5 separate regions of the Homo sapiens genome follow, and regions 2, 3, 4 and 5 are each linked to region 1. Evidence: promoter capture Hi-C in human tissues and cell types (Jung and others, 2019). All regions are on one chromosome and are shown on one strand. Each heading gives the region's core, a stretch centred on a gene start or on the middle of the fragment in contact. The rest is flanking DNA. Distances are from core to core; before and after follow the strand shown.

Region 1 (4,857 bases), core at 1,290-3,789:
CATCCTGACATTTTTGTGGGCTTCCAGAAGGAGCAATTGGTTCAGTCACATCTGTAACCCCTCCATCACATAGAACAAAAAGGATATATAACTTCCTGATTTTAAAACACAATTCCAACTAACCCTTTCAGGACATTGGGTTCTAATTGAAGGTCTTGAACTACGAATCCAAATACCCTGATAAAGTTAATAAACAACCAGAATATTTAATTACTGTATCATCGTTTGTGTCTCTTTCAGTTTCAAGGGACAGCAAATGCAGTCCAAGCTGCCTTAAGACAAAAGTGAATGTGGCCAGTCGCGGTGGCTCAAGTCTGTAATCCCAGCACTTTGGGATGCCGAGGTGGGCGGATCTCGAGGTCAGTAAATCGAGACCATCCTGGCTTACACGGTGAAACCCCGTCTCTACCAAAATACAAAAAATTATCCGGGCCTGGTGGCGGGCTCCTATAGTCCCAGCTACTCGGGAGGCTGAGGCAGGAGAATGGTGGGAACCCGGGAGACGTAGCTTGCAGTGAGCTGAGATCACGCCACTGCACTCCAGCCTGGGCGACAGAGCGCGACTCCGAATCAAAAAAAAAAGTGAATGTATTTGTTTATGAATGAAAATATCCAGAGATAGAACTTATTTCAGCTACAGCTCGATTCCAAGCTCGAAAATCTCCATCTGGGTTTCACTTTTCTCCAACTCTCAGTTCTGCCTTCCTGAGTATCAGCTTTATTTTCAGACTTCAAGCTCTAAGCTCACATCTTCATTATGCAAAGTCCAGTAGAAGAGAGTCCACTTTCTTAAGAGAGGAAGGAAAAAAAAAAGTCCCAGAATGGTGGTTTTTTTCTGTTTTTCTCTCTGATTGGCCAGACCTGGGTTACATACCTACCCATGCTACCAGGACAGAAAGCCATCACTGGCCAGACCTGAGCTGTGGGTCTACCAGTGAGTCAGCAGCGGCTGACATCACCTAAAGCAAATGGGCTGCGGGGTGAGATCAAGTGGTTGGATCTTCCAAAATGAACAGGAGTACTGTTTCAACAAGAGTGAGTGCTGGGAAGCAAAACCACAAATGGCCAATACAAAGTATCATTAGTAGACCCCACTTAATACAATTCACATGTTAGTGGAACCAAATGAAATTTTTAAAAATATATATCATTCGATTCACACTTCTAATCAAACTATAGTTCTGGAGAGGGTAACCTCACACCTTGAATCCAAAATATCTCTTCAGTTGCTGGCCTTCCACTTGTCTTCAGGAGCTGAAACACATGGCATTTGAAAAAAACTGGCGAACAGAGGAAACTCTTGCAGCCTCGCAGCCGCCCTGGTCCAGTGCCAACGGCAGGAGCACCACAGGAAGGGACCGCGCGGGTGCGCCCCACCCTTCCAGCGTCGCCTCGGGGACTCGCACCCCTTTCCCTGGCCGCACAAGACGTTTCATCCTTGGCGGCCGCCGCCAACCCGCCGGGAGGGGCGGTCGGAACTGGCAGGCCGGGGCGGAACCCCCGGGGTCTCCTTGTCGAGGCCCGGGCAGCCAGATCCTCAGGGCCGGTCCGGGCGGGAGCCCGGTCGATGGAGGCGGCTCCCGTCCTCAGCTCCCGCTCCCTCCCCTTCCCCGGGGCGGGCGCGCGCGGGCCGGGAGCTGGGAGGCGGCGGCTCCCGCCCGGGAGGCGGTGGCGAGGGCGGCGGAGGCGCGGCCGGGCGGGTCCCAGGGCCGTGGTTCTCCAGCGCAGGAGTCCCCGGCGCACCCGCTGCGCTCGCCCCGCAGCCGCAGCCTGAGCGGCCGAAGTCGCCACCAGCTGTGTCCGCGCAGATCCCGGGCGCGGAGGGGAGAGGTCGCCCGCTTGTCGCCCCCGCCGGACCCCGGGCACCGCGTAGCACCCAAGCGCCACCCGGACGAGGGGCCCTGGGGAGCGGCTGAGGCCGAAGACCCGAGGGAAGGAGGAGCCCGCGGACGGCTGCAGCCCCAGGTAATCTCCATGGAGGACGGGGCCGGTCTCCTCGCCCAGAAACCCGATCCGGGCGCCTTGGAATGCGGACTCCAGAGGCGGCATCTCGACCAGACAAGTTTCTCGCGGCTTGGAATGAGGGAGTCCTGAAACCGACACTCGTTTTATTTAACCAGCTTTTTTCTCCTGTTTTAAATAAGTTTATTTAGACAATGGAAAGAAAAAAACAAACAGCCTCTTGAGTGACTGTGGGTTTGTAAATATAATCCTAAAAGTTTTTCATGGTGTGGTTATTTGCTTGCTCATATTTATTAACCTGTTAACTCTTCCGCTAGTCAGAAAATTGACATGTAAAATATTCTTTGAGGAACGTTACAAGTTTGCTGTTGTATTCGGGCATCCTGTTATTCATCAGCTTAGTTAGCATCTGTCTTCCCCCGAAGTGGTACCAAAGCCGGTCCCTTGGCGACGGGTCTTGCATGTGACACTCTTGCCCTCTAGTGCCTCACCAGCTTGGTAGCAGTTTGATGGCTAATATTAATAAGATGTTACATAACATGAGAGTACTGGGCCAGGACTGGTGTTGCTACCACTTGTAAAGTCAAAAAGCCTGAGCCGATGGTAACGAGTGGTACTGTTTCCGTTTCTTTTCCATCTATTGCAACTTTCTCAAGCATTTTCAGCTCTGAACTTTAATTCCAGGTAAGTGTATTTATTTATTTATACTGTGCATTAATGCCTCACTCATAAATGTAGGGGCTTTTAAGAGATAACAACTTTGCTTTCAAATAATCTAAAAATTTCAAGATTGAACAAGTGCTTCATTTTATTCTTGAAGAAGAAATATAGAGTATTTTGATTAAATTAAGTGAAACAAAGGACCGTCTCATTCAGGGATGATTTTAAAGCTTCCCTTTCATAAGATTATGGTACTAAAGAAATGACCTCTTGTAATTGTTTAAGATATTCACCAACTTATAATGATTCTGAAGTAGATCTGTTTAACAGAACACATGTCTGTTGCCTTGACAGAATTTTGTAAGGAATATCAGAGACTTTAAACTACCTGCCTATCTACACAGTAATGATCCTCAAAAGGCTTTCTATTTGATGCAGTTTATAGACATTATTTAAAACTATACAATTAATAAAATTAAATGGAAATGGAAAGAATCAATCTAGGTATCAAATACAGAAACTTTAAATTTAAAGAAAACAGATATATCTTCTATTTAATATATCCATTTTGTGGGGGCAGGTAAAAGCAAAGTTACATCTTTAAGGGGTTTACTCAGATCCTTTTTCAAATAGTTTTTCTAATAGCTGGATACTGTTTAAGCATCAGAGTTATTTAATGTCGAAAATGTATTAGTATCTATATTCTTTATAAACATATTGAAATATAGCAACATGTAATCTGGAAGAGTTTAGAAGAAAACCCTTCTAGACAATGCAAACAGCTACATTCTTAATACATTTGTATTAAATTAAAATACAAATCAAATATTGAGATGTGTGCAACTGATCTGGGACACACACTTTTTTTTTGTTTTTTTTTTTTGCCCTTAGAAAATTTCATGTTATCAACTACTGAGCAATGCTGTTCACCACCAGAGAGCAGGATGATATGGCAGAGAAACTCTAGAATATCCGATATTCAGCTGAAGGGAATTTTTTTCCCTTTTTCTTCATCCATACCTTCCTATCAATATTATATTTAAGATGGAGATTTCAAATATAAGTTTGAAGGAGGCTCCTTTTTAAAATAGTACTGAACATATAAAGAGGCTTGCCTAAGATAAGCTCTTTTTTTTCTTTCTCTGGTTAACACAGTATCTACCATTTCTAATTTTGTTATCATTTTTCTTTATCATCTTGATGGTAAAACAGAAGATTTGTTTCTTTGTGTAAATAATGTTAATTTTGAGCTTGTCACATGAGTTAATTTTCTTCATAGTCTTTAAAATGAAGAATTCTTACATTACTAAAATGTTTTAGATAAAATAAAACTTTTATCTCTTTCTGGAGATATTTGTTATAGTTTAGTTTGGTGGAGTTATATATACCCTCTTTTTAAATTAATTTTCTTGAGAAAAGCATTATTTCTGAACATTGAGGCAAATATTAATTTTTGGTGTAACTGAAAAGTTTGTTAAAAAATATATAGTAGAAGAGATAATCAGGCATTGGAGATTCTTTTTCTAAACCATATATTCTGCTAAAGAAGTTATTATAAGCTAAAATGTAAATATGTAATTGTCTACCTGTCATTTCAAAATTTTAAAACTGTAAAGAAATTACAATTTTTTTTCTTTTAATCTTGGGACTCTGATTATATGACTTCCTTGAAACCTGATTGAGTTTCAGCTGCTTTTTGGTGATTAGAGCCTTAAAAGTGCATTTGTTAAGATGCAAAATATATTTTTTTAAACTATATGTAAATACTTTGTGATTTATATACACTATAAAATCAGGGAAATTGAATTAAGGATAAAAACACTATTCTCAACTAAATGAATGCCTTGAATTTCTAATTGCTTAACAGTTCTGACAGTAAGGGAAAACAGTAGAAGTTTACTTTCCCTGTGCTGTGTCTATTATAAATGAGCATTCACACTGAAATGCATGAACTCTGAACACCTGTCCAGATTAGGAATGCTGCCAGGCCACAAAAGTAACGACCTACATTATAAAGATAATTAGTCTGAACAATCCTCAAAACTATTTCATGACTGAAGTTTCTCGTAAAGGGGTGATTTTAATATTTCTTGGTTTGTCTGTTTGTTTATAGTAAAAAACTATACTCTTAGATACCTGGATATCACAGTGAGTGATTTATTCTTTCATGTTACTCTAAACATTTTCATCGATTTCATGTAAGTTACAGGACAAGAAAAAAAAAGTAGTCAGGAC
Region 2 (4,857 bases), core at 1,503-4,002, 870 kb before region 1:
CTCTTCATTGTATATGCTAATAAGGAGTACTTTGCATTTACATATGATTTAAGGGTTTACACATATGAGCTTGTTTTCATAAAAATAAAAATTTTCTTTTCCTCATATGCTATCGTCAATTTTAGGGTATGCTGTCCTCAAAAGTGCGAATGGGTGAGTTGAATCTCAGTAGAGACAGTTCTTCCTGCAATGTACTACAATACATTGTATTTGACATTTAGTCGGACACTGCATATATGTTCTTGTATTTGAGGAAGGCAAGAAACATCTTTTTATTGTACATTTATTTTGGTGGTTTTCACACTGTGCAGAAGCTTGAATATTAGCTCCTTTTCTTTATCTATTTTAATAATAACAAAAATTCAACCAGTAGAACTCTGAAATGCTGTGGAGACCATAAAATTAATCAGTAGAATTATATTTGCCTATAACTTCATTAGTTCAGTTCTCTAAAAGGAGACTACTAGCACCTGATCATCTTTTCTGAATAATCCTTGTTTTATTATTTAACTTGCTAAAATGAAGGTTTTCACTGTACTGTCATTGCAGTGATGTGATTGATGGTAATGTATGTGGACTACACTGTGTTTCAGAAGAATAATTTCTTTGTTTTCAAATTTGTTTATTTACTTATGTTCTGTTGGCTGATAACATTGCTTTGTGTACAACATGATGTTTTCAAGTATATGTATGCATAAAATGGAATCATTAAATCAAGTTAATTAAAATGTTCATTACCTCATGGTTATTGTGGTGAGAACATTTAACATTCACTCTCCTAGTTGGCAGTTGTCAGGAAAAAAATAAATCATTAATTATTATAGTCACAATGCTGAAAAATAAGAGAGCAATTTTAATGTCATTCAGCATGGGAGTGTAGGGAAAAGTGATGGCTCTCCTTTGGTTTATGAAAAATCATAAACTAAGTTAGAGTTTAAAATGTATGCAGTTGATGAAGTTTAAAAATCACATGATAAATATTTCTTCAATCAATAGCACTGTTCATTCACTAGCTAAATGTAATCTACTGGCATGTGTTCAAAGTATATTTTCAGAATATAAAAGTATATGATGCAAAACATATATACTGTAAACAGCCATAAGCAATACAAAATTCATGACTTTTTATATGTTACACTACTATGATCAAGTTACTCCCTAAAAGTAATACTTTTTTCATTAGAACACTTAAATATACATTTTTGATATTTTCTTGATAAACAATGTTCAAAGTGATTGACTTATTATCATACATTTTTTTGTAGTATATATGCTTAGCTTACTCATCAATGATTTTATATTTATAGTTGGCATAGATGCTTACCATTGAGTCAAACATTTAGGGTTTGTTTCTCTATTACCTTACTAATTATCTCTCTAACTTAGATTAGTTATCAATGAAATATTAAAGATATGTCTGCAGTCAAGCCCTCTAAGAGCGTAAATGTATTTTTATTTTTTTAGTTAAAACTAGATAGACAAGTATAATTAACTCCTCACCTTTGTAAAGGTACCTTCAGGTATTATTTAAATTATAAAATTTATTTAGAGCCTCGACAATGTTAAGGTGGCATGCTTATTCCACTAGTATAAAGAAAATGGCAAATACATATATTTTGCTATTAAAATGTACTTGGCATTTAGTAAGACAGTGCATATATATCCATGTAGTTGAGGAAGGCAAAAAACATCTTTTTATTGTACATTTATTTTGATGTTTACACTTTGCAGAAGCTTGACTATTAGCTCCTTTTCTTTACCTATTATTATTATTTATTTTTCAGATGGAGTCTCACACTGTCGCCAGGCTGGAGTACAGTGGCGCCATCTCGGCTCACTGAACCCTCCACCTACCGGGTTCAAGTGATTCTACTGCCGCAGTCTCCAGAGTAGCTGGGACTACAGGCATGCACTACCACACCCAGCTAATTTTTTGTATTTTTAGTTGAGATGGGGTTTCACCATGATGGCCAGGATGGTCTCGATCTCTTGACCTCATGATCTGCCTGCCTCAGCCTCCCAAAGTGCTGGGATTACGGGCATGAGCCACTGTGCTAGGCCTACCTATTTTAAAAATAACAAGAATTCATCCAATGGAACGCTGAAATGCCTGTGGAGGATACAAGATTAATCAGCAGGATTATATTTGCCTATGATTCCATTAATTCAATTCCAGACCCTACTTATGGGTCTAATGTCCTTTATTAGGCAATGTAGGAGATTCCTATACTTCTAATAAAGTAATCTTTTTCCATTTAAATAGTCTTTGCTTTTTATCAGGCAGTATGTATTTCCACAAAGTTAATTCAATGAAATACACCTAAAGCTGAGAGTCTTATCTCGTTAATGAATGAAAAATAGAAATCAATTATTCTGAGATGAGATTCTTCCTATAATTTTTATTAGTTGTTGTGAAATGGTACATGGGTTTGTCTTGAAGATATGATGATGTATTAATTCTTAATATTGAATTAAATGCTTCTGAAGTAGAGATGACTCTCTTTGTCATGGAGTTACAGTTGTTTGATTAAATTGCATTGAATTTTGAATGTTAATGTTATATATTAACTTAAATGAGATTTTCCAATATAAATACTCTGTGAACCTCCAGCCTTGTGTTTCTTTCTTTTTTTTTTTTTTTTTTTTTTTTTTTTTGCAGGTGTGTGAGACAATGGCTTTATTTATTATTATTATTTTATTTATTTATTTGTTTTGAGACAGAGTCTCACTCTGTCGCCCAGGCTGGAGTGCAGTGGTGCAATCTCGGCTCACTGTAAGCTCTGCCTCCCGGGTTCATGCCATTCTCCTGCCTCAGCCTCCCAAGTAGCTGGGACTACAGGCGCCCACCACCATGCCCCGCTATTTTTTTGTATTTTTAGTAGAGACGGAGTGTCCTCGTGTTAGCCAGGATGGTCTCGATCTTCTGACCTCGTGATCTGCCTGCCTCAGCCTCCCAAAGTGCTGGGATTACAGGTGTGAGCCACTGCGCCCGACCTCTTATTATTATTATTATTATTATTATTATTATTTTACCTCAGGAGAATGTTTGGGCAATACTTTTACATTGTATTAATACCTTACATATGAGGACATTCTTATATGTTGTCTTATTTATTTCTTAATGACCACAGTGACAACACAACTATCCCCTCTGCTCTCAGTCAAACTAAGGCAAAAATCAAAGTTAGTGACAATCTTCCCCACCCTCCAGAACAGATCTTGCCCCTGAATAAATAACTAGAAACAAAAGATGTGAAGAGGAGGTTCAAGAAGTAGATATAGTATGCTTGTTAGAATGAAATTAAAGCAAATGACTAGCAATAATAAATGAAGCAAGCAGAAAAAGGACTAGAAAAATTTTAAAGACAGGCAAGAAAATTTTTTAAAGTTGTATTTATGGTAACTATTATTATTAACTGTATTGTCAGTTATCTGAAAGTATACTTTGCCTATATTCAAAAGACAATATAATGCATAATCGAGTTTTTCTTTTGTTCAAAAACTAAGGTTAGTTCTGTTTTTTAACATTTCTATTATCCAGTGCTTAATTTATCTCTCCATTTCACTGAGAAATTTTATTTTAAAAAATGATACTACAAATGTCTTTTAGGGTCTTAGTTTCACTATGTCTTTCAGATCTTTAATTGAGCCTGATCAAGTGAATTAAATGACACCTTCATGATGTAGCAGTGTAAATTCAGCTTCAAAAATATCTAACTGATTCTGACTCTAGTATTTAGTCAATTAGAATGTGTTTAGTAACTGCTAGATTTTGGGCAGTTTACTAAACTGGAAAAGACAAGAGTACTTAATGCTGTGTAAACATGAAGCTTTACTTGACTCACTCTATTGCCTATTAAGAACGTTATCCAAATTAGCAGTCATAGTAATCAAATACAAGATGATACACTATTGAACTAAATGCCTTGGATTTGGCAATGGAAATAATGTTGTATGTCTAGAAACTTGTGCCTGACCACAGATTACAGCGTATAAAAGAGTATACAGAGAATGGCATGGTAGCTGCAGTGACTTCTGACACTAACTACCAGGGGACTCTGCAGGTTAAGGGTACAGTCCCCAACAAGACTATTTTTACTTCAGATACCAGCTGCAAGCTCAGGGGTTCCCAAGCCTCTGATGAACTCACTACAAATCTGGGGCTCCTCATTGACTTCTCAAGTAGAAAAATTCACTAGAAACTGTCAGAACTCAGGAAACTGCTATTGATACAAAAGTGGGGCAGGCAAGTGCTGGGAGTAGAAGGGCGGGTCCCTGGCGAGGGCTCCACCCCCCAGACCTGTGCCCACTGACCTAGATGAAGACAGGCACTCCTGCCTTTGCGCCCAAATGTTGCATTTCCCAAGACCACCCTGGCCTGCCACACCCCCAACCTGTGCCTATGCAAACCCCCAGACCCTAGGAGGCAGACAAACAAGTGACTGGAAGTGGAGCAGAACACATTGGCAGAAGACACAAGTGGCTGGACGTCAAGAGGACGTTGAGGAGAGCATGCCGGTGGAAGAGCACATGACAGACGCCAGCAGGCCTGCAGGCCATCAACCAGCAGAACAAGGCAGAGTTTGGCCGGGACAGTTGAAGGAGAGCCCCAGCCACGGACAACGGGGAAACTATTCCCCTTCTGGCTCCCCATCTGCTGAGAGCTACTTCCACTCAATAAAACTTTGCACTCATTCTCCAAGCCCACGTGTGATCCGATTCTTTCCCGTACACCAAGGCAAGAACCCCAGGATACAGAAAGCCCTCTGTCCTTGAGACAAGGCAGAGGTCTAACTGAGCTGACTAACACAAGCCACCTATGGATGGCTAAACTGAAAGAGCACTCTGTAACACACG
Region 3 (4,857 bases), core at 1,612-4,111, 700 kb before region 1:
GATGGAAAAAGAAAATGGCAGAAGAGATTGTGAACTTAAGTAAAGTATTGTAGGTATGCCGATGTATATTTTGAATTTATGGGTAGGAAACATAATAAAGCCTTATAAGAAAGAGAACATGTGCACCACCAGAAAAATTGAAGCATCATTTTCTTCCATTCTTTTACTACTAAAGTCAAATGACACACATTTAAGTAGAAATTTGTAATAACAGAAAACAGAATAGGATCATACATTTCAAATGACTTTAGTAGTAAAAGAATGGAAGAAAATTGTCTGATTATTCATTTATTGTTTCTGCTATTCAGCTAATTCTGCTGGCATTGTAAAGCTACTATCTGTCAGAGAAGAATAAATAGATTGACAAGAGATGAACACTCTTCAGAATAGGGAAAAGTTCAGTGTGGTACTCCAAGAACTATCTACTGCATTAATTGTGCAATAAATGTTTAAATGTATTAAGGTATTCTTAATACTGTACTAAAGTATTCTCTCAGGTTGAATTGAAAAGTGATTTTCATTTCTGCTTTTTATCTCTGAATCATTCTCTCTCTTTTTTTAATTTCCAACTTTTATTTTAGGTTCAGGAGTACATGTGCAGAATGTGCAGTGTTGTTACATAGATAAATGTGTGTCATGATGGTTTGCTGCACGGATCATCTCATCACCCAGGTATTAAGCCCAGCATCCATTAGCTATTCTTTCTTATGCTCTCCCTTCTAAAAAGTGTTCTACCCTTCACCTTAAAAAATGCCCCAGTGTGTGTTCTCCACCCCCATCATGTGTGCATGTGTTCTCATAATTCAGCTCCCACTTATAAGAGAGAGCATGCAGCATTTGGTTTTCTTTTCCTGCATTAATTTGCTGATAATAATGGCTTCCATGACCTTGCAAAGGACATGATTTTGTTCCTTTTTATGGCTGCATAGTATGTATATGTACCACATTTCCTTTATCCAGTCTATCATTTGATGGGCATTTAGGTTGATTCCATCTCTTTGCAATTGTGAAGAGTGCTGCAATAAATATACACATGCATGTATCTTTATAATAAAAAGATTTATATTCCTTTGGTTATATATCCAGTAATTGGGATTGCTGGGTCGAATCGTATTTCTGCCTCTAGGTCTTTGAGGAATGGCCACACTGTCTTCTACAATGGTTGAGCTAATTTACACTCCCACCAATAGTGCATAAGTATTCCCTTTTCTCGGCAACCTCACCATCATCTGCTATTATTTTTTTTGACTTTTTAGTAATAGCCATTCTAACTGGTGTTAGATGGTATCTGATTATGGTTTTGATTTGCATTTCACTAATAATCAGTGATGTTGAGCTTTTCTTCATGTATTTGCTGGCCACATGTATGTCCTCTTTTGAGAAGTGTCTGTTCATGTCCTTTGCCCACTTTTTAATGTGGTTGTTTGGTGGTTTTTTTCTTGTAAATTGTTTAAGCTTCATGTAGATGCTGGATATTAGACCTTTATCAGGTGGATAGAGTGCAAAAATTTTCTTCCGCTCTTTACATTGTCTGTTTCCTCTGTTGATAGTTTCTTTTGCTGTGCAGAAACTCTTTTGTTTAATTAAATCCCATTTGTCAATTTTTGCTTTTGTTCCAATTGCTTTTGGCATCTTCGTCATGAAATCTTTGCCTGTGCCTATATCCTGAATAGAATTGCCTTTGTTTTCTTATAGGGTTTTTATAGTTTTGGGTTTTACATTGAAGTCTTTAAACCATATTGAGTTAATTTCTGTATAAGTTGTAAGGAATGGGTCCTGTTTCAATTTTCTGCATATAGCTAGGCAGTTCTTTCTGTACCATTTATTAAACAGGGAATCTTTTCCCCATTGCTTGTTTTTGTCAGATTTGTCAAAGATCAGATGGTTGTCAGTGTGTAGTCTTATTTCTGCGTTCTCTATTCTGTTCCATTGATCTGTGTGTCTGTTCTTGTACCAGTATCATGCTGTTTTGATTACTGTAGCCCTGTAGTATAGTTTGAATTCAGATAGCATGATGCCTTCAGCTTCGTTCTTTTTGCTTAGAATAGCCTTGGCTATTTGGGCTCTTTTTTTGTTTTCATAGGTATTATAAAACAGTTTTTTCTAATTCTATGAGGAATGTCAATGGTAGTTTAACAGGAACAGCACTGAATCTATAAATTACTTCAGGCAGTATGGCCATTTTCACAATATTGATTCTTCCTATTCATGAACGTGAACTTTTTTGTGTTTACTTTTGTCATCCCTGACTCCTCTGAGCAGAGCTTTGTAGTTACCTTGTAGAGATATTTCACATCCTTTGTTAGCTGTATTCCTATGTGTTTTATTCTGTTTGTGATGATTGTGATTGGGAGTTCATTTGTGATTTGACTCTCAACTTGACTCTTGTTGGTGTACAGGAATGCTAACAATGTTTGCACACTGATTTTGAATCCTGATATTTTACTGAAGTTGATTATCAGCTTAAGAAGTTTTGGGGCTGAAATGACGGTGTTTTCTAGATATAAAATCATGTCATCTGCAAACAAAGATAGTTTGACTACCTCTCTTCCTATTTGAATACACTTTATTTCTTTCTCTTGCCTGAATTCCCTGGCTAGAGCTTCCAATACTGTGGTGAATAGGAGTTGTGAGAGAGGGCATCCTCATCTTTTGCCAGTTTTCAGGGAAATGCTGCCAGTATGATATTGGCTGTGGGTTTGTCATATATGACTGTTATTATTTTGATATATGTTCCTTTAATACCTAGTTTATTCAGAGTTTTTAAAATGAAGAGATGTTGAATTTTAATGAAGGCCTTTTCTGCATCTATTGAGATAATCATATGGTTTTTGTCTTTAGTTCTGTTTTTGTGATGAATCACATTGATTGGTTTGCATATATGATGAATCACATTGATTGGTTTGCAAATATTGAACTGACCTTGCATCCTGGGGATAAAGCCTACTTGATTGTGGTGGATATGATTTTTGATGTGTTGCTGGATTCAGTTTGCCAGTATTTTGTCAAGGATTTTTGCATCAATGTTTATCAAGGATATTGTCCTGAAGTTTGTTTTTTTGTTGTATCTCTGGAGGTTTTTGTATCAGAGTGATGCAGGCCTCATAAAATGAGTTAGGGAGGAGTCCCTTCTTTTCAACTTTTTGGAATAGTTATGGTATGAATGATACCAGCTCTTCTTTGTACCTCCTCTAGGACTTATTTTTTTCTTTTGGTTGGTAAGCTATTAGTGCCTCAATTTCAGAACTCATTATTGGTCTATTCAGGGATTCAATTTCTTTCTGGTTCAATCTTGGTAGGGTATATGTGTCCAGCAATTTATCCATTTATTTTAGATTGTATAGTTTATAGAGGTGTTTGTAGTATTCTCTGATGGTTGTTTGTATTTCTGTGGGGTGATATGCCCTTTCTTTCTGACTGTGTTTATTTGAGTCTTCTCTCTTTTCTTCTTTATTAGTCTAACTAGCAGTCTAACTATTTTATTTTATTTTTTTCAAAAATCAGCTCCTTTACCGTTTGAATTTTTGAAGGCCTTTTTCCTATCTCTATCCTCTTCAGTTCAGCTCTGATCTTAGGTATTTCTTGTCTTGTGCTAGCTTTTTTTTTTTTTTTTTTCTTTTTTTTTCTAGTTCTTTTAGTTGTGATGTTAGGCTTTCAACTTGAAATTGTTCTGGCATTTTGATGTGGGCATTCAGTGCTATAAATTTTCCTCTTAGCACTGCTTCAGCTGTGTTATGGGGATTCTAGTACATTGTATCTTTGTTCTCATTAGTTTCAAAGAACTTCTTGATTTCTGCCTTAATTTCATTGTTTACCCAAAAGTCATTCAGAAGCAGGTTGTGCAATTTCCCTGTAGTGGAATGGTTTTGGGTGAGTTCTAATTTGATTGCATTCTGATCTGAGAGACTGTTTATGATTTCACTTCTTTCGCATGTTTCTGAGGAGTGTTTTACTTCTTATTATGTGATCAATTTTACAGTGAGTGCCATGTGGTGATGAGAAAAATGTATATTCTGTTATTTTTGTTTGGAGAGTTGTGTAGATATCCATCAGGTTCTCTTGATCCAGAGCTGAGTTCAGGTCCTGAATATCTTTATTAATTTTCTATCTCAATGATCTGTCTAATATTGTCAGTGGAATGTTAAAGTCTCCCACTATTATTGTGTGGGAGTCTAAGTCTCTTTGTAGATCTCTAAAAACTTGCTTTATAAATATAGGTACTCTTTTATTATGTGCCTATATATTTGGGATAATTAGCTCTCCTTGTTGAATTGAACCCTTTACCATTATGTAATGCCCTTCTTTGTCTTTTTTAATGTTTGCTGGTTTAAAGTCTGTTTTGTCAGAAACTAGGATTCCAACCCATGCTTTTTTTCTGTTTTTCATTTGTTTGCTAGATTGTCCTCCATCCTTTTATTTTGAGCCTGTGAGTGTCTTTGCCTGTGAGATGGGACTTTTGAAAACAGCATACTGATGGGTCTTGCTTCTTTATCCAGCCTGTCATTCTGTGTCTTTTAATTGGGACATTTAGCCCATTTACGTTTAAGATTAGCATTGCTATATGTGGATTTAATCTTGTCATCATGATGCTAGCTAGTTATTTTGCAGACTTGAGTATGCGGTTGTTTCACAGTGTCACTGGTCTGTGTAACTTCAATGTGGCTTTATAGTGGCTAGTAATGGTTTTTCCTTTCCTTGTTGAGTGCTGTCTTCAGGGCTCTTGTAAGGCAGGTCTGGTGGTAATGAATTCCCTCAGCATTTGCTTGTCTGAAAAGGATCTTATTTCTTCTTTGTTTATGAAGCTTAGTTTGGCTTGATATAAAATTCTGGCTTGGAAATTCTTTTCTTTAAGAATTT
Region 4 (4,857 bases), core at 890-3,389, 670 kb before region 1:
AGAGGGCTCACACATGCGCACTAAGAGGCAAAATGGCAGACTTTAACTGTTGACATGACCTCCTTGGAACATTCAGACTGGTAAGAGAAAAGAATTAAACATCAAATCTTCCCTCAGGGACTCCAGATAAGAGCCCAGGCCAAAGGACACCTTGATTTTGACCTTGTCAGACCTGGAGTTGAAAAACCAGCTGCACCCTTCTAGAATTCTTACTTACAAAACTGTAAGTCAATACATTTGTTCTACTTTGCTAGTTTTGTGGTACTTTGTTACTGCAGCAATAGAAAACTAATAAATATACGAACTTAAATATTTATTCTTTATATCTTAAATTGAATGTTCAGCTACATAGTGACAATTATTCCATAAAAATAAATATTGATTCATAATATATTTTTTTATTTAGGATACCCCTAAAGTGAGTTAGGCTTTGCATTGAGGAATCAATAGGGTGATATGAAAACGCTAAGACTAATATCTTGTGCTTAAAATTCTTAATGTGATTTTTGTTAAGTATTTACTCTTTAGTGATTTCTCCATTTGATAACTTTGCAAAATTTTTCACTTTAAAAAATGGGCAATCTAGAAATATTTTATTTCCTCTCAAATGGATTATGCAGATATTTACCAATACTAGGCAAGCATAGAAGTAAAAACCATTATGATGAAGAATAAGTACACAAAATAGTTTGTTTATTATGAGTCATTAATTTTGACTTTGTATAACATAAGAAGATCAGAAAAAAATTGCAGTGAGCTTTGTTAAACACTAACTTTGATCTTAAAATTTTTAACTCCATGCTCTCTCGAATAATAAGAAATGTGTAAATATATATCTTATGTTCTGGCTTAACTAAATTCCTTATTTTCTTCTCATCAATAAGTACTGTCTTTTACCTTTTTAAAGTGAATGAAATTACAGAATAAAAATTTAAATAAAATATTCAGTAAGTTAGTGTGTATTTCTTACTAGAAAACTCTAAATAGCATGAAGGACTTATTTTAATTTTTACTTATTTTCTCATTGAACACAAACTACAGATATAACCGTAAATTTTTACTTTGGATTCTTAAACCTTCAGGACTTGCTATGATCCTTTGTCTTTAGTATTTAAGCTTTCTTTGTGGGCATGAGCTGAGAGAAATGTAAAAAAATAATAATAAACTTTGTCCATATAGAAAAGGGAACCACACACACACACACACACACACACACCTGCACACACTAAATCTCTAAGCTCTTGAGAAAATAACAATTTCCCCTGGATTTCATGAAAGAAACAGATGGACAGACCCTTAGGCTCAGGGTGGAAGTGATGGTAGGAAGCTGGGTGTGTGTATTAGGTGAGCTGAGCTTGATAAATCCTCTAGCTCTGCCTCCCAGGCTTTGAAACACTATTGAAATATCTGCAGCATTTTTCTATTTCTATTTTTAACAAGAAATAGAAATTCCAATTTGAAAAATAGGTCAAACCAATTTGGGTAAATAAAAAAATGTTAGACTTCTCTACCCATACTAAGCTACTGAAAGTAACCCCATGAATCAGAAAAAAAAAATCCTTTAAATTCTATAAGCAAATTAAAACTATGTAACTTATTCTGTTAACATATCATACAAGAATTGAAAGGAATAAGTAAACATTATTAGTTATGTGGTTATTTTTTACTATATGCCAAAATATTATTTTTATAGTAATAAAAATTTATATTATAATACACTGACAAATTGATCAATGCAACATAGAAGAGAGTCAAAAAACTGATATAAATTATAAATGATATAGTACTTGAAAAAATAATATATATTTAATATCATAAAGAAATTAAAAATCATTGACATATGCTTACTTTATATTTGAATGAAAGACATATTTTTAACCTTTAAAAGAGTTATTATTTGATGGTAAGTTCTTTACTGATATAACTACTATTGGTTCTACTATTACTCTGACTATATTTTCCATAAATATTACAAATTAGGTCTAGTGAACTAATAGATACATGACATGTGGAAAAGATCTGTGCTTCAATGAAAACTATGCATTATTTATGGCACATTTCACATTACATTATTTTGATTCTATAAGCTTCTTTGCAACTCTGTTAAGTGGTAGATAATTAATAGAAATGCAAAATAATTCTTGTCTATAGACATGAAACTGAATTGTTCCATGGAGAGATAATCTTCTCACTCTTAATACTCAAGGATGAGTTTTGGATCTGTTTACAAATTCTTGCCAGTGTTCCTGATACATAATTGTGAGGAAACAGTGAAGTGCAATAACTGATTCAAAGGAGAACCCCAAACCTACACACACTTGACCCAGCAATCCCATTAGCAATCCAAAGGAATATAGATTGTTCAACCATAAGGACACATGGATTCATAAGTTAATCACAGCACTATTCGCAATAGCAGAGACATGCAATCAACCTAAATGCCCATCAGTGGTAGACTGGATAGAGAAAATGTGGTACATATACACCATGGAATACTATGCAGCCAAAATAAAGAATAAGATAATGTCTTTTGCAACAACATGGATGAAGCTGAAGACCATTATCCTCAGTGAACTAATTCAGGAACAGAAAACCCAACACCATCTGTTCTCACTTATAAGCATAAATTAAACACAGAGTACATATAGACACAAAGAAAGGAACGATAGACACCAGGGCCTACTTTAGGATGGAGGATGGGTAGGAGGGTGAGGATAAAAAAATCTACCTATCTTGAGACTAGCCTGACCAACACGGAGAAACCCCGTCTCTACTAAAAATACAAAATTACCCAGGTGTGGTGGTGCATGCCTATGATCCCCGCTACTCTGGAGGCTGAGGCAGAAGAATCGCTTGAACCTGGGAGGCAGAAGTTGCGGTGAGCCGAGATGGCACCATTGCACTCCAGCCTGGGCAACAAGAGCAAGACTCAGTCTCAAAATATATATATATATCTACCTATCAGATACTATGCTTATTATCTGGGTGATGAAATAGTATGGACGCCAACTCCCCACATCATGCTATTTAACTGTAGAACCAATCTGTACATGTACCCTTGACACTAAAAAAAAAAAAAATTAATTAAAAAAAGGTAGTGGATATTTAGTCAGTTCCACATTTTGTGTTATACTGGGACAGGCTCAAATCCATGACAAAGAGAATCTCTAAAGAGTAACTTTAAAGGTTATGTAAATTTCTGAAGTTGGGCCATCTTATTATTTTCTGTTAACATATCAACATATTTTTAAAATGGTTAAAAAATGGTACATTTGTATAGGACACTTAACCACAAATGCAGCTTGCAGGACGGGAAGTTACACCGGTTGAGTCAATGAATGAGTGGTGAGTGAATGTGAAGGCCTAGAACATTATTGTATATAGCTGTAGACTTTATAAACACTGTGTACTTAGGCTCCACTACATGTATTTAAAATACTTTTTCTTTCTTCAACAATTAATTAGCTTACTGTAACGTTTTAATGTCATTTTTATACCTCTTGTAATCTATCATCTCTCACCTTCACACACACATAAAAATCCTTCACTTCTCTAACCCTTATTATGTCTGTTACTGACGAAGAGTCAGGAAGAGCCTTGATCATCAATTAAAAATGACTTGAAAATGTTAGTAGTTGAAAAAATGGCACCTCCTTCTTTAAAAGGCCAGAAGATGATCCTTTAATTTCAGGTATCTTATTCACTATTTGAGAAGAGGCAAATGTTTGCTTTGCTTACTAAGTAAATTTACCCATCCCTTCCAATCTGTGGCATAAACTTAGTGACTACTTCCAATGCAGATAAAAAGAAAAAAAAATGAGAAAGGAGGAAAACCAAAAAAAGTAGTTTTCGAAATAGTTGAACATGTTTTCATAGAAATAATAAAAACACATTGAATATCCAGCTCTCTAATATGAGTTGATTCTAGTTCTCTTCTCCTCAGCCTCGTGAGGCAGTCAACTTTGCTACTGGCAGCCAGGAGTCTCCTAGGAGCTTCAATAGCTCAATACATCCAGAAAAACAGAGAAAGGGAGAAAGAGTGGCAGGGAGGAGAGGTTAGAGAGAGAGAGGGAAGTTTCTGAATCAAAGAGCAGAGGTGAGATATATTTCTGTCTTCTTTAAGATTGTATTTACTTGTCATTTTTCTGGTGCCCCTTAACTCTGTATTCAGAACCCCTTGTCCCCAGAGCCAACCATCAAACCCCCAAATAATATGCTAACTTTTCCTCTACCTTGTTTGTGTAAAAACTGGCTTTAAAGAAATTATCTGGCCTACCTTGTTTGATTGTTTGTCATAAGACTCCCATTCCAGAGAGGGTACTGTCCATACCCAGAAGGAAGGAATTCATGCTCAAGAGAGGCCAAGAGACTCTAGACACACAGGTTGTGCTGGGTTTACCCACTCAGTCTATTAGCATTAGATCATGTTTTTTGCCCAATAGTTTTTCTACATGGCTGTGCATACCTAAGCATAAAAATGGGCAATATTCCCTCTACCTTTGAGTCTGTATTCTGAAGCCTCCTGTGTTATATAAAACTATGATCAAATACATTTTTATGTATTTTTTCCTATTAATTTCCTCTTGTCAGTGATTTTTAGTGAACCTTGAAGGTGAGAAGGGAAAATTTTTCTTTGGTCCATACAAAAGTAATTTTATCTTTTTTCTTATACATTAAAGACACATTCATAGAAATCATTTCAGTATTAGAGCTATATCATTCTAAAATAGATGATATTAAGACATGTTTTTAGAAACATATTTAAATAGAATTTAATATACTTTAAAAGCATACATAGATGTCATCACATAACCGTTTTTTTCTGCCTTGTTAATTAGTGAAAAAGGAGAAAAATAA
Region 5 (4,857 bases), core at 1,286-3,785, 570 kb before region 1:
AATATATTTCTCATGGGTATAAAATTTTCATGAGCTTTTACTCTCTTTAATTCTTTTAAAGTTTTTTTTCAATTTGTCAAAACAGACTATTAGTGTTAACCAAGTTAAATTAAATTTAAATTAATCCAGACGGCTTGACACATGAATATATTCATATGCAAAACATATCATAGTCAAATCAAATAGAGAAGCTAATATCAGAAGTTTTTAGAGAAAGGTAATCACATCAAGTGCAACTTAACCTAATTGAGGCTGATTTTTAAGTGACTTTTATTTCAAAGGTAGATTTAATCTTCTAATGCCAGCTTTTTTCTATCTTAAATTCAGAGCCCTTTGAATCTTTTTCCTTTTCCTTTTTTTTCCCCTTTCATCTTGTTATTTTAATCCATGGGGTGAATAAATTTCTGTCTAACAAAATTTCATTATCTCCTGCTTTGATTAAGGATCATTACAATTTGTAGATTTTTTTTTTTATCTCTTTGAAAGAATTTTACCCTCTATTGGTTTAATAAAATGCCAATATATGTTACAGGAGGAAAACTATAGTAAGGCAATTAGAACATGTTCTACTGTAGAGAAGAAATAATGTTAGTTTACTTATTTTTAAATCATATATGAGAAATTTCTAAGGGGAGAGAGTGCTCAGAATCTTTTAATAATTCTTGAAGATTCAATAGCAGACATTTTGATTACATTTAACAAGTATTTTATTTAACAATTTTTATTGAATGGCTGAGTGTGCACCATTGAGGATATGTCCCACAGGGCACCTGTTCTGATGTTAACACACTAAAAATATAAAATAAAATAAAATAAAATAAATTACAGTTAAGTGCTGCTGTAACTATTGGGACAGTAGTCCATACTACTTGAAGTGAATATGAAATATGTATTTAAAGAATCAGTGAATGAACTTTTGAGAAATTTATGTCTAAGGCAGTTTCTTTAATATTAATAGGATTTATGTTGATAATATGTGAGGGTGTTGGGCCCAAAGAAATATTAATTGGTTATATCATAGTTCCTTCCATGATAATAATACTTCATTTTTATTAGCCATCATAGTTTTATTTTCTGTAACTTTTTTATTCATATATTCTACTCAATTTCTTTTTATTTCTCTTGCCTATTCCAAATTGTTTTGCTAATGTTGTTAATGTACACATATTATATATTGGTGAAAAGTGAGAGTCCGGACTTTCAGAGCCACTACCTGCATCTGAATCTCAGCTCTGCCCCATGCAATCACTGTGACCTTGGACAAATTCCTTAACATCTCCATGCTTAAGTTTCATCTGTAATATAGGATAAATAATGACATCAATTACACAGGAGAGATATAATGATAAAATGAATTGCTAGATGTAGAGTACATAAAACAAGCTTGCACATAGTAAGCTCTTTATAAGTGCTATTATACCATTATATATTAGATATTAATTTTAGCATAAATCTATCATTAACAGCTGTCCAAAAACTATCAAGGATCGTTTGTATATTTCAGTAACTCCCTAATTGTGAATCTCATTTTCCCAAATTGAAAATATTTTCTAGTGGAAAATATTTTGAGAAATGTTGAGAAAATATTCCCAACTACCTTTTCCACTAGCTTACAGAGATCTCATTTAGGTTCTGCCAATTTCGTGCACCTGCATGAAACTCTGACTCATAGGTAAGCCATGTCAGAAAACCAGCAGGAATAGGGAACCCAAATTGCTGGCGCATGCAGGAACCAAGCAGTGAATGTATGAGGTTAGCAATGATGGTGTTTCTTTCCTAATTGTGACTGAAGCAGTGGGATCCACAGTATTAGTTGCTTAACCACCTAGTTCTGTGATGTTGTCTGAGAGTTGTTCCTGGAAGCTTATTAATATCTTAATAAATCCTTCCTGTTTAAACTTGTGAGCATGTGACGGGCGCGATGGCTCACGCCTGCAATCTAGCACTTTGGGAGGCCGAGGAGGGCGGATCACTTGAGGTCAGGAGTTAGAGACCAGTCTGGCCAACATGACAAAACCCCGTCTCTACTAAAAATACAAAAATTAGCTGGGCGTGGTGGCTCACTCCTTTAATCCAAGCTACTCAGGAGACTGAGGTAGAAGAATCTATTGAACCCGGGTGGCGGAGTTTGCAGTGAGCCAAGATCCTGCCACTGCACTCCAGCCTGGGCGACAGAATGAGACTCTGTCTCAAAATAAATGAATAAAAACTTGTGAGAGTGGAGTCTATTGACTTATAGTGGGAAGAATGACCACTATAGTAATTTACTTCAGCAGTGGTTTCAGGCATCTAGCACTTTAAGAAAAAAAAAAAAAATGTTGAGGGTCAGGGGAGTACTTGAAATTGGTCAATTTATCTGATGGAATTTGAAGTCAGTAAAGAATTCATTAGCATTAGAAAAGGATGTTGGCATTCCGTGGCACAGACTGAAGAAATATTGACATCTCTGTGGTCACTTGGAATGAAGTGCAAATTAAAATCAATTTTGACGGAGTTGCTGATTACTATTTACACCATTTTAATAGATATCAAAAATGCTGGGGGTTTGGGGAAGAATGGGTAGGCTATTCTAGCTGTGTAGGAGAGTTTAAAAATAATTTAACAGTCCAAAGTTTTAAGTTATTACCTCAGCCATTATCAGATAGCTAAAGGTTTTTATGATATTATTAGAATTATTTTTCTATTATTTAGCAACAGGACTGTTTAGCAACATGGAACCTGACGTTGCCATTATTGTATTGCAACATAGGCAGAATCTGCAGCTGTTTTAGATCTCTTTTATCATGTGCTTATTCATTCTGTGGATATTTATAGCCAACTACTTGAAAGCCACTAGTACAAATATTATGCTATAGAAATAAAAAAATAGATAAATCCTCTGTCTTCAAAGATATTGCATTCTATAGGCAGGGGGTAGGGATAAATCGAAAATTAACATCTCTGCTGATAGGAAAAGAAAACTGAAGCGAGGCTAAATAAACTGGATAATGATGGGGTAATGTTTTACTGAAGATGTCTGGAGAATGCCCACACCTCCCTCCGAAAGCACACACCAAGTTGGGATTACATGAGTAAGGGACTTATTGGGGGAAATACCTGTGAAGGATAAAGAGGCACAGTCCGAGAAGGTGGAGAGAGCTTTGAGACCACCTATGAAGGACAGGGCCAAGTTAGAAAATTGAACAGGTAGAATCTTACACTGCAATGCAATTCTTTAAAATTTTCATACAGGCAGACAGGAAGTCCCTGAGCCAAAGTCACCTGTTTAAGGAGTTTTTTTCTTCTTCAGGAGTGGACCAGCCTTTCAACCCCCACCATCATCAGTCATTGCCTCAGAGCAGTCCACAGGAAACATAACCTTGACCCAAATAAGGTAATGGAACCAGTAGGGATCATCAATTACACTTCCCAGCGCAGAAAATCTGAGCAGAACATTTTCATGTCCCTTTGATAAGATGGAGCAGAAAGCTGAAGGGAGTTAGGGATGAAGCCACACAGCAAATTGAGGGAAGAACATTCTATATAGAGGAAACTGTGAGCACAATGTTGCTGAGAAGGAAATATGTCTGGCATATTATGTGTATCTATAGCCTAGTAAGCAGAAGGTAAGGCATAAAAAAATAAGCTGGAGGGATAGCAGGATCAGTATTATGTAGGTGAAGTAAAAGGGGGAATGACTGTAAAGGATTTGATTTTTAATGAAGATGGAAAAACTTTGTAGATCGTTAAGAGTAAGAATGATGTTTGAAATTATCTGAATTATGTTTGGTCATTCTTGCTGTCATGTAAAACACAGTCTATATAGAGACATGGTTTTAAAAAAAATAGATAGGATTATATTGCAATATTCCAAGGGCGAGATAATTATGTTTGTTTGTTTTTGATGAGGGTGTCTGCCATAAAGACAATGAGAAATGGTCAGATTCTGCATATGTTTTTAACGCAGATCTGACAGGGGATGCTAGAGAAAAAAAAGAGTGAAGGATGCATTCAAATTCAGGGATTGAGTAGGAGGGTGTCAGATGAAAAATTTCAGTGAGGGCTTTGGGAGGATTCAGGTAATTCCAAGTTCCCTGAGCTCTCATATCTTACTAAGTCACTCCATGAAATAGAAATAGCCTCTCCTTATTGTCTGGTGAGTCTTAATTATATATTCCTGTTCCTGGCTTGTTTATAGAATCTGCAATAGTCTCACCTATGAAATTGACAAAGACAAGATAGATACCTTGTACAACAAAATTAGATTTATATGGGAGGGAATTCAAGGAAGCGTGAATGATGGAGCAGGTAGAGTGAGCTAGGGAGGGAAGCAAAGATTATTTTAAAAGACAGATCACTGAGGTCACTGCTGTGAACAATGTGGATGTGGTTCCACCAGATTTTAAGATATGTACAGAATGCCTCCCAGAACTGCCCATTTCAATGGTAGGGGGCTAGACAATTTATGCGCAAGCTTCCATTATTTATTGTTGGAGTAAGGAAGAATAAAAATAGTAGAAGTTGAAGTGAGAGAGGTAAAAAGAAGAGGAAAGATGACAAAGAGCATCCTAGGTCACTGTAAGGACTTTAATCTTTATTCTATGTAAAATTAAAAAAACACAGAATTTTAATTAGAAGAGTAATATTTTTAAAAAGGATGATTCTAGCTGCTCTATCATTGTAGTGGTTCAAGGAGAACATTTTTTCACGTATTTTTGTTTCTCAGATTTCTACCAACCATTGTGTTTGTGAATTACTGCCTTTTAATGTTCAAAAAAAATAAGTAATGAATGACTATAATTTCAAAGCATATTCATTTTCTTTACTAAAAAAAGTGTACTGTATATCATTTTTGTAAATTTTTAAAACTATAAAACA

The links. The method cuts DNA at HindIII sites, captures the fragments that hold promoters and counts their contacts. A contact is called where the count stands out against the background at its distance.
Region 2: a fragment that was not itself captured here is called in contact with the fragment with the promoter of NDST3 in region 1 in 1 of the 25 tissues and cell types used here (dorsolateral prefrontal cortex).
Region 3: a contact is called between a fragment that was not itself captured here and the fragment with the promoter of NDST3 in region 1, in 2 of the 25 tissues and cell types used here (mesendoderm cells and thymus).
Region 4: a contact is called between a fragment that was not itself captured here and the fragment with the promoter of NDST3 in region 1, in 2 of the 25 tissues and cell types used here (dorsolateral prefrontal cortex and mesendoderm cells).
Region 5: a fragment that was not itself captured here is called in contact with the fragment with the promoter of NDST3 in region 1 in 2 of the 25 tissues and cell types used here (H1 embryonic stem cells and dorsolateral prefrontal cortex).

What each region holds. Positions count from the first base shown.
Region 1 is chr4:118,031,947-118,036,803 of GRCh38, forward strand. NDST3 (N-deacetylase and N-sulfotransferase 3) reads left to right here and starts at 2,540. Exons shown (of 14, transcript NM_004784.3): 1 at 2,540-2,646. The HindIII fragment of the contact is 9,214 bases long and covers 1-4,756 here.
Region 2 is chr4:117,157,917-117,162,773 of GRCh38, forward strand. No RefSeq gene overlaps it. Among named protein-coding and RNA genes, the nearest start is that of TRAM1L1, 75 kb to the left of the region's middle. The HindIII fragment of the contact is 3,457 bases long and covers 1,025-4,481 here.
Region 3 is chr4:117,336,498-117,341,354 of GRCh38, forward strand. The region is part of intron 3 of LINC02262 (long intergenic non-protein coding RNA 2262); the gene reads right to left. Among named protein-coding and RNA genes, the nearest start is that of LINC02262, 22 kb to the right of the region's middle. The HindIII fragment of the contact is 4,499 bases long and covers 613-4,857 here.
Region 4 is chr4:117,361,284-117,366,140 of GRCh38, forward strand. LINC02263 (long intergenic non-protein coding RNA 2263) reads left to right here. Exons shown (of 5, transcript NR_147153.1): 2 at 127-223. Among named protein-coding and RNA genes, the nearest start is that of LINC02263, 3.1 kb to the left of the region's middle. The HindIII fragment of the contact is 6,739 bases long and covers 1-4,857 here.
Region 5 is chr4:117,464,861-117,469,717 of GRCh38, forward strand. All of the region lies in intron 2 of LINC01378 (long intergenic non-protein coding RNA 1378), which reads left to right. Among named protein-coding and RNA genes, the nearest start is that of LINC01378, 39 kb to the left of the region's middle. The HindIII fragment of the contact is 4,260 bases long and covers 406-4,665 here.